4 separate regions of the Homo sapiens genome follow, and all the other regions are linked to region 1. The links are contacts of gene promoters, found by promoter capture Hi-C in human tissues and cell types (Jung and others, 2019). All regions are on one chromosome and are shown on one strand. The core of a region is centred on a gene start or on the middle of the fragment in contact, and the rest is flanking DNA. Distances in the headings are between cores, read along the strand shown.

What was found. The method cuts DNA at HindIII sites, captures the fragments that hold promoters and counts their contacts. A contact is called where the count stands out against the background at its distance.
Region 2: a contact is called between a fragment that was not itself captured here and the fragment with the promoter of POC5 in region 1, in 1 of the 25 tissues and cell types used here (H1 embryonic stem cells).
Region 3: a fragment that was not itself captured here is called in contact with the fragment with the promoter of POC5 in region 1 in 2 of the 25 tissues and cell types used here (mesendoderm cells and thymus).
Region 4: a contact is called between a fragment that was not itself captured here and the fragment with the promoter of POC5 in region 1, in 2 of the 25 tissues and cell types used here (bladder and thymus).

Annotation. Positions count from the first base shown.
Region 1 is chr5:75,715,765-75,719,149 of GRCh38, forward strand. It overlaps POC5 (POC5 centriolar protein), which reads right to left and starts at 1,673. Exons shown (of 12, transcript NM_001099271.2): 1 at 1,542-1,673. LOC441087 (a long non-coding RNA gene) reads left to right here and starts at 1,668. Exons shown (of 3, transcript NR_149046.1): 1 at 1,668-1,820. RefSeq lists an enhancer at 1,069-1,378. The HindIII fragment of the contact is 10,988 bases long and covers 1-3,385 here.
Region 2 is chr5:76,186,704-76,190,088 of GRCh38, forward strand. The region is part of intron 2 of SV2C (synaptic vesicle glycoprotein 2C); the gene reads left to right. Among named protein-coding and RNA genes, the nearest start is that of SV2C-AS1, 100 kb to the left of the region's middle. The HindIII fragment of the contact is 3,512 bases long and covers 1-3,333 here.
Region 3 is chr5:76,092,289-76,095,673 of GRCh38, forward strand. All of the region lies in intron 1 of SV2C (synaptic vesicle glycoprotein 2C), which reads left to right. Among named protein-coding and RNA genes, the nearest start is that of SV2C-AS1, 11 kb to the left of the region's middle. The HindIII fragment of the contact is 6,115 bases long and covers 1-3,385 here.
Region 4 is chr5:75,419,219-75,422,603 of GRCh38, forward strand. It overlaps CERT1 (ceramide transporter 1), which reads right to left. Exons shown (of 17, transcript NM_001379029.1): 6 at 123-206. Among named protein-coding and RNA genes, the nearest start is that of HMGCR, 84 kb to the left of the region's middle. The HindIII fragment of the contact is 7,507 bases long and covers 1-3,385 here.

The DNA.
Region 1 (3,385 bases), core at 423-2,922:
ATAGAGTTAAGGACTACGACTGTGAATGAGAAGAGGGTTAAAGCCAGAACCACTAACATCTAAAGGGCAAGAGAAGAACAGTCAGCAAAGAAGAGGAGTCAGCAAAGGAAGTCAGAACATTAGAACTATGGAAGCAATATCACAACTTTGAGAAGAAAATAGAATTAGATGCCAAAGAACCATGAGGATTGGATAGAATTTGGAGATTAGGAGGTTGCTGAGACGTTTGCTTGAACAATTTCACTGGAAAGTAAAACAATTACAGGTCTTAGTCACAGTGGGCTGAAAAATAAATGAGAGATGAGGAAATTGAAATAGAAAAGGAAGATACAGGGAAAAGTGCAAAAATAGAATGGAAACACAGGCTGGAACTAAATTGTGGAAAGGAAAGTTCAACTTTTTCCAGTGAGTATCACTGTGCATACACATGTTAAGTAAACTAAATCTCAGCATGACTGTCTTTAGTTAAGCCAATTAGGGAGGATAAAATAAGTGCATGTATCTGCAGCAAGGAATGGCTGCTTCACTGACTTCAAATCTACCACTGTGATAACTTGGTCCATTTATATTTTTATTCACTTCTTCCTTCAGGATTTGAGACCAGGCAGGTAACAGGGGTGGGGGGGGGGGGGTGCTGATTATTTAAAAATGAGCTAGTAAGTATGGTCAGATCTCAAAAATTGTTTCTTAATATGGACACACTGCAGACACAAAAAAACCCACCGCACTCTTGGAAAATATGCTATCTTCCATCTGCCCTGCTTTATGTCAACAAGGTATGAGTTATTTGAAACTCTAGAACAGTAGCATTTTCCTTACTGTTTCTAGGTTCAGAAACAAAGGAGAAAAATGAAAACTGCTTTAATGGGTGGCGGACGCACATTAGTTCACTACATTTTCAGTAGTCTCTAATCCAAGGTATCAGAAAACAAGATCAAAACTTTTGTGTGCTTCTCTGTTGCCAGAAACATAAAATAACATCTTGGTAATTATCTGGCTGACAGCAAAACAGGGGTCTGGGAATTCAAATGGAACCCCCAAGAGGCAAAGGAAGAGCGAATTAACATGCAAACTAGCAGCAGGGTGATGTCGCCTGTGCCTTTCACCAGGCCTAGCTGCACTCAAGGAAAGGGGCGCGCCAGCCCCTCCCCAAAGCAGGGACTAGAAGCAGAGGAGAAAAGCCATTGCAGTAAGCAAAAGGCCATAAGTTTTCTTCCATCACCTTCCGACCCAGCCTGTTTTAAGAAAAATCTTACTTAAGCACAACAGAGCTTTATACATGGTTATTTTTTCTCAACGTTTTAAGTGACCGGAACCTCTGATGACAGTAATCGCTCAGCATCCCTCACTCCTGCTCACTTCCTCTTCCTGCACGCCTCGGAGGGGAAACTTTGGGACCTTCCGGCACAACAGCTGAATCACTCGCGGTCTGGGGAAGAGCCCAGGGGGAGGAAACACGCGCCAAGGAACTTTAAATCTCCCTCCACTACTTTCGCCAGGGATGCAGGGACGCAGGATCTGCCCGGAGCGCTGCTACCCACCGTCGCCGCTCGCGACCAAATCCCGACTCCTCGCTCTGCGCCTCTTAGCCGCGTCGCAGCTGCAGTGTCAGCAAGTGCAGCCTCAGCAAGCACAACCGCTACCTAGACGGCAACCTGACAGTTTCAAACTGCAGGGAGGAATTAAGGACCGCCCTGGGCATTGGTCCTTTGTTTCAGCAATCTGCCGTTTGATTGGTCCGAGAGCTGGGGGCGGGGATTTGGGCCGCTGCCGGGAGAAGCCGGAATTACTTTGGAGAGCCCCGCCCCCTGGCTCCGCAGGTTGGTAGGGGGCGGGGTCCTAGGGAGCCCCACCCAGCGCCCGTGGGGATTAAATATTGCGCGTGCTCAGTTCTGTTCAGCGGCTGCAGGCTGCTAAGCGGCTCCGGGAGCTGATTTGGATAGAGGCTGTTGAGCAGGGCTGAAGTTGGCTAATGCCGTGTGCTGTTGGCTTTCAACAATTCCGGTAACCTAGATATGAGTCCTAATGCTTTCGTCTGCATAAGAACAATCCGAAATTCTGGGCCAGGTGTGGTGGTTCATGCCAGTAATCCCGGCACTTTGGGAGGCCGAAGTGGGAGGATCGCTTGAGCCCGGGAGTTCGAGACTAGTCTGGGGAACATAGGGAGACCCTTTCTCTATAAAAAATTAAAAACAAAAAAAAAATCTGCATCATCCACAGATCCCCTGCAACAGAATCACTTGGAGGTGCTTTTTTTTTTTTTGAGATGGAGTCTTGCTCTGCCGTCCAGGCTGGTGTGCAGTGGCACTATCTCGGCTCACTGCAACCTCCGCCTCCCAGGTTCAAGGGATTCTCCTGCCTCAGCCTCCCGAGTAGCTGGGATTACAGACGACCGCCACCACGCCTGGCTAATTTTTGTATTTTTAGTAGAGATGGAGTTTCACCATGTTGGCCAGGCTGGTCTCGAACTCCTGACCTCAGGTGTTCCGCCCACCTCGGCCTCCCAAAGTGCTGGGATTACAGGCGTGAGCCACCACGCCCGGCCGAAGGTGTTGATTCCTTCGGTCATGGACACCGTCAGGAAATCTGAATTTTTAACACACACTGCCAGTGATTCTGATGCAGGAGTCTGCAGACCACCCTTTGAGAAATTGCTAGTCTAGGCTGGGCGCGTTGGCTCACGCCTGTAATCCCAACACTTTGGGAGGACGAGGCAGGCGGATCACCTGCGGTCAGGAGTTCGAGACCAGGCTGGCCAACATGGTGAAACCCCATCTCTACTAAAAATACAAAAATTAGCCGGGTGTGGTGGCTTACGCCTGTAGTCCCAGCTACTCCGAAGGCTGAGGCAGGAGAATCCCTTAAACCCAGGAGGCAGAGGTTGCAGTGAGCCAAGATATCGCCACTGCACTCCTGCCTGGGTGATAGTGAGACTCTGTCTCAAAAAACAAAGAAAAAACCAAAATTGGTAGTCTAGTTTTAACTAATCTCAAACGTGTCAGACTTCAAGATAGAGCCTTCTGGTGAAGTATTGGCCTTAGAATCAGATCATAATTATAATCTAGCTTTACCATCTACTCGCTGTCACCTTGGATAATACTACTCACATACTAAGGTGGTAGGAGATTAAAGGAATTAATATATCTAAAACACCGAACACACAAACATATAGTCTTTCAACTTACATTGGCAACAGATAGGCTAGAGGTATGAGGACCCAGATGGCAAAGGTACCTAAGTAGCCCAGACTGGGGTTCTGCAATCTGAAGAACAGATACTGAGATCTGGGTGAGTTTTCAGGCTCCCTTCTGTTACCTCCAGTATAAGGTTTCTTTTTCTGTAGATAGAAATGACATAACCTGGGTCTCACTTACTTTTATGTTGG
Region 2 (3,385 bases), core at 328-2,827, 470 kb after region 1:
AAAGACATTTAATTGACTCGCAGTTCCACAGGGATGGGGAGGCCTCAGGAAACTTACAATCATGGTGGAAGGCACCTCTTCACAGGACAGCAGGAGAATGAGCACTGACCAAAGCGGGAAGCCCCTTATAAAATCATCAGATCTCATGAGAACTCACTCACTATCATGAGAACAGAATGAGGGAACCACCCCTATGATTCAATTATTTCCACCTGGTACTGCCCTTGACACATGGGGATTATTACAATTCGAGGTAAGATTTGGGTGGGGACACAGAGCCAGAGCATATCACCACTTTTCTCCCTCAGCACAGAACTTGGAGTAGGAGAACCTCGCAAGGGATGGGGATCCCATTGGTGTTAAACTGATATGCGATGTCCATGGTACACCACAAGGTGATTCGCTTTAATGTTCTTGATTCCTAAGACTTTTAAAAAATTGCTTCAAATAACAAGGGGGCCTGCAGAGCCATACATGCACAAAACACTGTAATGTCTCCTCCCCTGTCTGATGGGCATGCTGTACAACAGCCATTTGAGGAACGACATTAGAGAATAGATTGGGCTTCATTATTAGGCCTCTTCTTCTACAGTTTGCTCATTGGATTCAGGAAAACTGTCTTAGGCCCGCATGTGCTTTTTAGTGCCCAGGTGAACTTAGGTAACAAGTAGCACTATTGCTTGACATGGCATTATCTGCCCATGTTTGGTCTCTGCTTGGACCAGCAAACTTAAATGTCAGACTTCCCTAAGGTAAAAGTCAAAGATATGCTATAGACTGCATCTGATATTTACAGTTCTTTCTAGCTAAGAAGAGCTGGCTTTTGTGGTAAATATTCTCTCATGCAAATTAGAAAGGTTTTCCCCCCTTTGTACATATGCCTTTGATGTTATTACTTTCTTTGCTTTTATTTGATTTTGTGAAAGTCCACAGATGCTTTTGAACACATAATGGCCCCTACTTGTGGCTACTAAAAATAGTAATTGAAAAAGTGAGGGATCAGTTTTAGAAGCCTATTAATTATGTATTTAAATAGTTTCAAATTGCAAAAAAAAAAAAAAATATGTCTTAGGGATTTAGAAAATTACTCTTTCAGTGCTGTTTCAGGTATCTTCTTTTCAGAACTTGAGTTAAGGAAGGTGAAAAGTTGTCATTCCACTTTTTCTACCATTCCAGATCCATCTTCTTTAATTCCTGCTTTTTCTTTTCCATCACTATTTTATTTCTCCGCTTTTCTCTTTACGTGATGCCAATAGTAATATTAATAATTGTTGGTCGGGTGCAGTGACTCATGCCTGTAATCCCAGCACTTTGGGAGCTAAGGGCAGGTGGATTGCTTGAGCTCAGGAGTTAGAGACCAGGCCTGGGCAATATGGTGAAACCCCATCTCTACGAAAAATACAAAAAATTAGCTGGACATGGTGGCACGCACCTGTAGTCCCAACTATTTGGGAGGCTGAGGTAGAAGGATCACTTGAACCTGGGAGACAGAGGTTGCAGTGAGCTGAGATCATGCCCCTGCACTCTAACCTGGGTGACAGAGTGAGACCCCCTCTCAAAAATAATAATAATAATTGTTGCTTATTGGACAACTGTGTGTTTTACACAGTACTAAGCACTTTATCTCATTTAATCTCTCAAAACCCTGTGAAGTAGGTACTGTTATTAGCCCCACTATACAGAGGAGAAAACTGAGGCAGCACAAGGAACTTAAGTAACTCTAGGTCACACAGCTAGGAACTGGTTGGGGAAGGGTTCAGATCTAAGCCATCTGTTTTAAGAGCCCAGGCTCTTAACTATTTGCTACCTGACCCAAAGTTCAGAGTGGTAAATGGTAGTAGAATGAAGACTAAGCATACTGCATTTGATTTAAAAAATAATAAAGTTATTTTTCCCCCATCTTAACCCCCATTACTTTAATAATGGATTCACTTCTCAGCACTATTAATGAAAGAATTTAATAGAACAAGTACTGAGCTTGAGATTTCATGCTATCATTTCTAATCAGACACAGAATTTGTAACCAGTAATGACAAAAAATAGCAAATTGTGGATAACAAGGAGATGTTACAGCCTACTTAGCATCTTGGGTGGGGGGCAGGGACAGCTGGAGAGGGACAGTGGTCCCTGGAGTCAGCCTTCTATGGACTCTGATGGAGTCTGGCCAAGGGAAGACCACACTCAGCCAACCATTTTGGGGTTCCAGGAGCAGGGACAACAGGGCAGCAGCTGTGAAAGCTTACACCTCAGTGATTAGGTGGGGAGGGTCCATAAGAGGCCAAAAAGGGAGAGAGGCACCCCACTCCCACCCCCATGCACACAGAAAGGAAAGGCTGGGCCAACTTTGCAGGACTGACTGACCCAACATCTAGCCCAAACCAAGCATTTGACACAGGCGGAAGCTAGAAGACTGGCCTGAGATCTTAAGTATAGTTAGAGGGAGACTAGAGCTAGTCCAGGGTACCTTGGCACCTTTGTCCAAGGATTTTTCTAGCATAAAATGAAAAAAAAAATGACTCTTTGAGGAAATAGGAGAGACGGAGCTTACACTGATGTGTAAGCTTTCACAGCTGCTGCCCTGTTGTCCCTGCTCCTGGAACCCCAAAATTGTTGGCTGAGTGTGGTCTTCCCTTGGCTTCCTAGAATTGACCTTAAGAGGATATCATTTTCAGTGTTGCCTTTGGTAATAAAACAAACCAATTTGCAGTGACTATTCCAGTAGCTGATTTCTTTAAGCACAAAGCATACTTTTAGGGGTCTTCAGAGGCATGGTAGAAACCCCCTTACCTGACTAAATCAGGTCTGGTAATTAGTTGGTTAGTAGAAAAGTTGGTAAATGCAGGAAAACATGCAAAAATATAAATATGTATGTAAATATGGTGTTTTAACCTATAAGCATACATTCGTTTGATCATCTTTGGATGCAGAGTGAGAGATTTTTCCTTTGAGTTGGGCTCTTCAAACTGGAGTTCCCCATTGTTTTCTTTGCATCACTACAGTCATTCTGCAGCTTTGATTTTTAGTCTTAAGTTTCTTTAAAGTGGAGTGAGACCGTAAAAACACATGTGCCTCAATCTGAGCACAGGATCCTTCATCTTAATGATTTTTCTCAGTCTTTTTTTTTGTATTGCTCACATTGCAATGATTTTCTTTTGCAAGTCATCTTCCCCAAGTCTTTCTTACATTCACTTTCATAGAAATAGCTCCCTTTCCTTTCACACTCAGATTTCATTATTTATGTGATTGGTGTTAAATTAAATGCATAATTAATAACAAACAGAACTGGCATAAAAAAGTTGGGTACAAACATAGGTAACTCTTCAGAAACATAAAGTGCTGCTGGTGGAAGCAGAAGGAAGATGGGTGAGTGAAAGGAAAACACTTG
Region 3 (3,385 bases), core at 467-2,966, 380 kb after region 1:
TTAATTTCAATATACACCTGCAATGCTGTTTTTCAAGCATGTGTAAGTATTAGTGTTCTAGTGGCTAAAAAAGTGGTGCCAGTTTTTCTCATGGATCTTTTTCCAGGCAATAATGTAGGTGAGGTCATCTAAGTTGTGAGAACGTAAATTGCTTTGGTACTCAATACAACTATTTTCATTTTGAATGAAAAAGGAACATGGCTATAAACACTCAATACAGTGACCTTTGAGCAGGGGCTGCTCATTGCTGACTTAGGTCACTAGAGCTGAGGATCGACCCCCATTCCTCCACCCCCATCCTCAATAAATCTTATTTGTCCAATAGCTGTCAAAAGCCTGTATTAATACTTGGAATATTTTGCTTTTAGGCACATTTTTCACTCTACTCGACTGTGTATTTGACGGGATGGGAGATTGGCATTTTTTTATCTTCTCTTGCTGTGGGCTGGGAATGTTCTCCCTCCTACCATCTCTTCTTCCCCAACTCCCGCCATACACATATTTATCTGTGGAAAAGTCTCCTAATCATCCTTCAATCCTCAGCTCGAAGGTCCCTTTTCATGACACTCCACAGCTCTTTCTCAGTCTCTCCTAGGCCCCTTGCAGCTCCAGCTGTGGAGTGCGTCTCATATTATGTCATGGTGGCTGCTCTATGTGTATTTTCCTACTAGACTTTTATACCTTGAGGAAGAGGCCAAGCCACTGAGATATTTGTAACTCCTGGCACTGGACACATAGGGGCTGGAAGCATTTTAAATTATTTTTAAACCTTTTTTATTAAGGTATATTATATAGAAAGAAAAGTGCATATTTAATAAGGGTATAGCTGCCTTTTCACAAACTGAACATGTCTCTTTATAGAGCACCCATCGAAAATCAGAAAGAATATTTCTAATGCCCCAGAGGTCCCTTGCATGCTCCTTCCAGTCATAACTATCTCCCACTATCCTGACTTCAGTCCTTTGGAGGTGCTTATCAAGTTCTCCCTCTCCTGCTCTGAATTCCATTGTTCCCTGCGCAAGGTCTGAGAAGCTGCTTGGCAGAGTCTTGCTTCTGCCAGTGGACATGCGAGTGGTGTGACTGTGTCCAGAATGTTGTTTGGGTGCCCAGAACTTCCAGTCCACAAGGTAGAGGCAGAGAAAAGAGCCCCTAATTAATTGCACACTTAGCCATTGGCCCTGCAAAGCAGCTTCGCTTGTGACCAAATTCTAAGCCCCTCATGAGCAATTCTATCATTTGACCTCCATGCCTTGTCCAGAATTTCACAAAACTGTTCTTGCACGGTCCTTTAGACCTGGGCCTTATTCTTCTTATCCTCCAAATATGAACTCATTCCAGTGAATCGGAATGCAACAAACTGACTTCCAGACTGTTCAAATTTCTCCTCTATCAGCTGGCTTCTGAGCCGCAGTGATCTGGATAAAGCACATTGCATTCATCCCTCTCTCTGTACTAAATATTCTGAATTCTTATCACAAGGCCAAGAAACTCATTGGAGAACACTGGGCTCTTATCAAATTATTTTCCCCCTTGTAGACTTGCTTCTAATGTCTTTCCCTTTGACATCACTATTCCAAGGAACAGTTTTAAGGAACTTCCCATATTTATTTTAAGGATGTTGCCCATTATATTACCCGTTGCCCTATTCATTACTGTCTATTCAAGAAATGTTTTTGGAGCTGGATGCAGTAGCACACACCTGTAGTCCCTGCTACTTGGGAGGTTTAAACAGGATTGCTTGAGCTTAGGAGTTCAAGACCAGCCTGGGCAAAATGGTGAGACTCTGTAAATAAAGAAACAAACAAGTAAATAAATAAATAAATAAAATGTCTTTGGAGTTTCAGCACTATAAGAAACTGTGAGTCTCCTGAGAAATGATTTTGTTTTATCAATTAAATTCATGATGGTATAATTTTTTTCCACAGAAAACATAGATTATAAATATATAGCTGGATCAGTTTGACAGGTGTATACATCTGTGTAGCCAAAAGCATATCTCCATTACCTTAGAAAGTTCCCTGTATCCCTTTTCATTCATTGCCTCCTTTCCCAGAGACACTGTCCTAATTTTTATCACCAAAGATTGGTTTTGCTTATACTTGAAATTCAAATAAAAGGAATCATACAGTATGTACTCTTGTGTCTGTTTTCTTTTTTTTAACACCGTATTTTTGAAAAGATTCATGTTTTTTTGTGTATCAATAGTCAATTCTTTGTCATTGCTGAATGCATAGTATTACATTATATGAATATACCACAATTTGTTTCTCTGTTTATCTGTTGGTAGATGTTTGAGTTGTTTCCACATTGGAGCTATTATCAATAAAGTATCTATGAACATCCTTGTGCATGTTTTGCTATGTAATGTAGTATTCACAGGTTCTGGGGATCAAGAAGTGAATATATCTTTGGGGAACCATTTTTCTGCATACCACACCTTCTGTATATCTTCTCTGATGCAGTGTCTGTTTATATATTTTGCCATTTTTCAATTGGGTTGCTTGCTTTCTTATTGTTGAATTTTAAGAGTTCTTTGTGTATTTTGGATACCAGATATGTATTTAATCAGATATGTGTTTGCAAATATTTCCTCCTAGTGTGGCTTGTCTTTTTATACTATTGACAGTGTCTTTTGATGAAAAAGAGTTTTAAATTTTAATAAAGTCCAATTTTTCTCTTTTTTTTCCTTTCATGGATCATGCTGTTTGTGTGGTATCTAAAAATCTCACCAAAAAGCCCAAGGTTATATAGATTTCTTTCAATGTTTTTTTTCTAGAGATTTTATAGTTTTACATTTTATAATTGGGTCTATACTCCATTTTAATTTTTGTTTAAAATGAAATATATAGTTTCAGAGGCTTTTAAATTAACAGACTTTATATTTTTGAGTGGTTTATAGAAAAATTGAAAATAAAGTACAGAGTTCCCAGTTACTCCACCCTCATGAGGTCCCAGTTCTTGCATCCATGTAGTAGATTTGTCACAATTGATGAGCCATTACTGATACATTATTATTAACTGAAGTAGTAGAATTTCATTGATATGCCTCTTATTAATTAACAAATCAGTTTCTTCAATAAAGGCTATCCAGAGTTTCAGTTTCTTCTTATGTCAGCTTTAGTGTGCTGCCTTTAAAAAGAAATTTGTCAATTTTATCTGGATTGTCAAACTTATTGCATAGTTATTTATCATCATTAGTTTGTTTTTATCTTGTAGACTCTGTGATTCTTGTATCTAATTGTATTTATTTCATTGCTTTGACTTCTCAGGTCAGTCAAGTTTTTATATAGAGTCTTCCAAAGTCATGTGGCATTATCCAAAGACCTTTAAAAATATATATGAATTATTTAAGAATCATTTCTATTTCATTAGAACGTGGAAGATT
Region 4 (3,385 bases), core at 259-2,758, 300 kb before region 1:
ACTTGGATTCCACCAGTTCTACTGCTTTTTAAAAAATTAATCAGGTAATTATTTCTTGTGAGTTGTTACATAACTTCTGAAAGTATATTTTATCCAGCTGAGGGGAAAAATGTATTACTTACACTTTTCTTTATTGCCGTTGGTACTATGCAAGAAGTCACCATCAGAACGCGTTGTAGGAAAGTCATCTTCATCATCTTCTACCACTAAATAAAATATATTTAAGGAAATTAGGATGAAAAGAAATAGAAATTAATGTCTATTCTTATGTTCAACTGAGTCATTTTACTCTGGATTCTGATTCTGAGTATGAAGTCTTACTCATCTTTGTATTTTCACTGGTAATCAAGGTATGCTCAATAAATATCTACCTATCAAGGAACTTTTAAAGAACAAAATCTTAATCTCTCTCTCTCCCCTCAACCCCTGAATATTCTCATTTAGTGAGACTATGGAGAAGGGTATGATACAATTATTTCTTTTTAAAGCTCCCCGAGATGATTACAGTATCAGCCATCTATTTATTTTTGCCACCCAAATATGTGGAATGTCTTTAGATACATTATTTTTAAACCATATTCACTCTCATTTGTGTAAGGGAAGGTTACTGAGTTATGAATTATTTCACCCTGTAGTCTTCCTATCTCTTGCTCCCTTCCGTGGGGCCATTTCCACTCTGTAAGAGGACCAGAAGGGCTGAACAGGACTATAAGGGTGCCTTCTATGCAGAAGACACCTTAGCTTGCCTCTAAGAGTTGTTCTTTTTTTTTTTTTTGTAGATGGAGTCTCACTCTGTCACCCAGGCTGGAGTGCAATGGCATGGTCTCGGCTCACTGCAACCTCTGCCTCCTAGGTTCAAGCAATTCTTCCACCTCAGCCTCCCAAGTAGCTGGGACTACAGGTGCGTGCCACCACAGCCAGCTAATATTTTTGTATTTTTAGTAGAGAAGGGGTTTCACTATGTTGGCCAGGCTGGTTTCGAAACTCCTGGCCTCATGATCCGCCCACCTCGGCCTCCCAATGTGCTGGGATTACAGGTGTGAGTGACCACACCCAGGCGAGAGTTCTTATATATACTATTTCTGATGTGCAAGGAAAATATAATGACTTGCAGATATGATATCGACTGTTTTTTTTTTTTTTGAGGCGGAGTCTTGCTCTGTCGCCCAGGCTGGAGTGCAGTGGCGCGATCTCGGCTCACTGCAAGCTCCACCTCCCGGGTTCACACCATTCTCCTGCCTCAGCCTCCCGAGTAGCTGGGACTACAGGCGCCTGCCACCATGCCTGGCTAATTTTTTGTATTTTTAGTAGAGACGGGGTTTGACCATGTTAGCCAGGAATCCGGTCTCAATCTCCTGACCATGATATCAATTTTCATTCATCCCAGGCTGTATCTGTATCCAGGCATCCCTTTTCTCTAATTCCAGACAAAAACAGAATCTCTCTTGTTCTACTTTAACATACCTCTTTCTTCTATGTGCTATCCCTTTTTCTACTACGCCACATGCTTTAATTCTCTGTACTACGCATTCCACTCATAATGCAAATTCCTGCATCTTAGTTCCCAACATTATTTGCTGCTTTTATCAAGCTTTTTGTGGCTTCTTCTTCTTCTTGTTTGTGAGACAGGGTCTGGCTCTGTTGCCCAGCCTGGAGTGCAGTGGCACAATCTCAGCTCACTGCAACCTCCACCTCCCAGGCTCAAGCAATCCTACTCAGCCCCTTGAGCAGCTGGGAACACAGGTGCACACCACCAGCCCAGCTAATTTTTGTAGAGATGAGGTTTTGCCATGTTGCCCAGGCCGGTTTCAAACTCCTGAGCTCAAGCAATCTGCCCACCTCTGCCTCTCAAAATGCTGGGATTACAGGTGTAAGCCACTGCACCCAGCCTACATGGCTCCTTTATCTTTTCAGGAACTCCCTTTATAAAGAAGGAATCTACATTTTAAACTAATGTCTTACTTACTGCATGTATCTTTTTACATCAGGAGCACCGTGGCTCTATAAGGAACATCTCATCTATCTTAGCTGTCTTTTTTATGGATGCAGAGCCCAATTCGATACCTTATTTCCCTTCTTTGATTAAATGGTAGGAATCACCATGGAAAATCTTCTGTACTGCCATTTTCTAATTACTGGACTATTTCATTTTTTTATAACCACTTGAAAATGTTGTCAATCATCTATAACAACTCTTACAAATCATAAACTATTATCTATTAATACCCTGTATTCATTTCTACCTGGCTGTGATCTCAATATTCAATTCTTTTTCTTTTCCACTTCCATCATTCCTACAGACTTCAATATGAGCATATCTTGATTACCAGTGAAAATACAAAGATGAGTAAGATCTCATATGCTCAATAAATATGCTGTGCAATGTCTTTAGATACATTATTTTTAAACCATACTCAGATAAAAAATCATGCTGACCATCAGTTGAAGTTATAATACGACTATTCCTAAATTAGTCCCCTGGCATAATCCCATAAAGATGACCTTCAAGTACCTTTTGAGATCCTTACTTCCCGGGGCCTTTTCAAATTTCCCTACTTTTTTGCATCATATCAATGAAAAGTTAAAACAGTTTGTTACTCACTCTTCAACTCTACCTTCATGCATTCTTTTCTACAGAAGCAGGAGATATTTCATTTGCTCTAGATTTGACCTATTCTCACAATTTAAAGGAGTTGTTTTCTTGGAAAACTCAAAAGCCTTCTGTACAATATTTGTTTTCCCCTTTCTGCTGTGCTTTCCTTCTGCCTTCAGAAGGCTTGTTTATAATGCTAGCTCATACTTCTACTAGAGAGGGTATCCACATATCAAGGAACTTTTGATTATCTACCTATCAAGGAACTTTTAAAGAACAAAACGTTAATCTCTCTCTCTCCCCTCAACCCCTGAATATTCTGGTTTAGTGAGACTATGGTGAAGGGTATGATACAATTATTTCTTTTTTAAAGCTCCCCGAGATGATTACAGTATCAGCCAGACATCTATTTATTTTTGCCACCCAAATATTTCTCAGCCACCAGCACATTAAATCTTCCTCTCAAACTACCCCTTTACCATAACCTTCCACCTCCAAAACAGACACAAAATAGCTTTTTCAGGCTGGGCGTGGTGGCTTATGCCTGTAATCCCAGCACTTTGGGAGGCAGAGGCAAGCAGACTGCTTGAGCTCAGGAGTTTGAGACAAGCCTGGGCAACATGGCAAAACCCTGTCTCTACAAAAAATACAACAATTAGCTGGGCATGGTGGTGCACATCTGTAGTCCCAACTACTTGGGAAGGCTGAGGTGGGAGGACTGCTTGGGCCTGGGGGGCGGAGGTTGCAGTGAGCCAAGATTGTGCCACTGCACTCCAGCCTGGGTGACAGAGG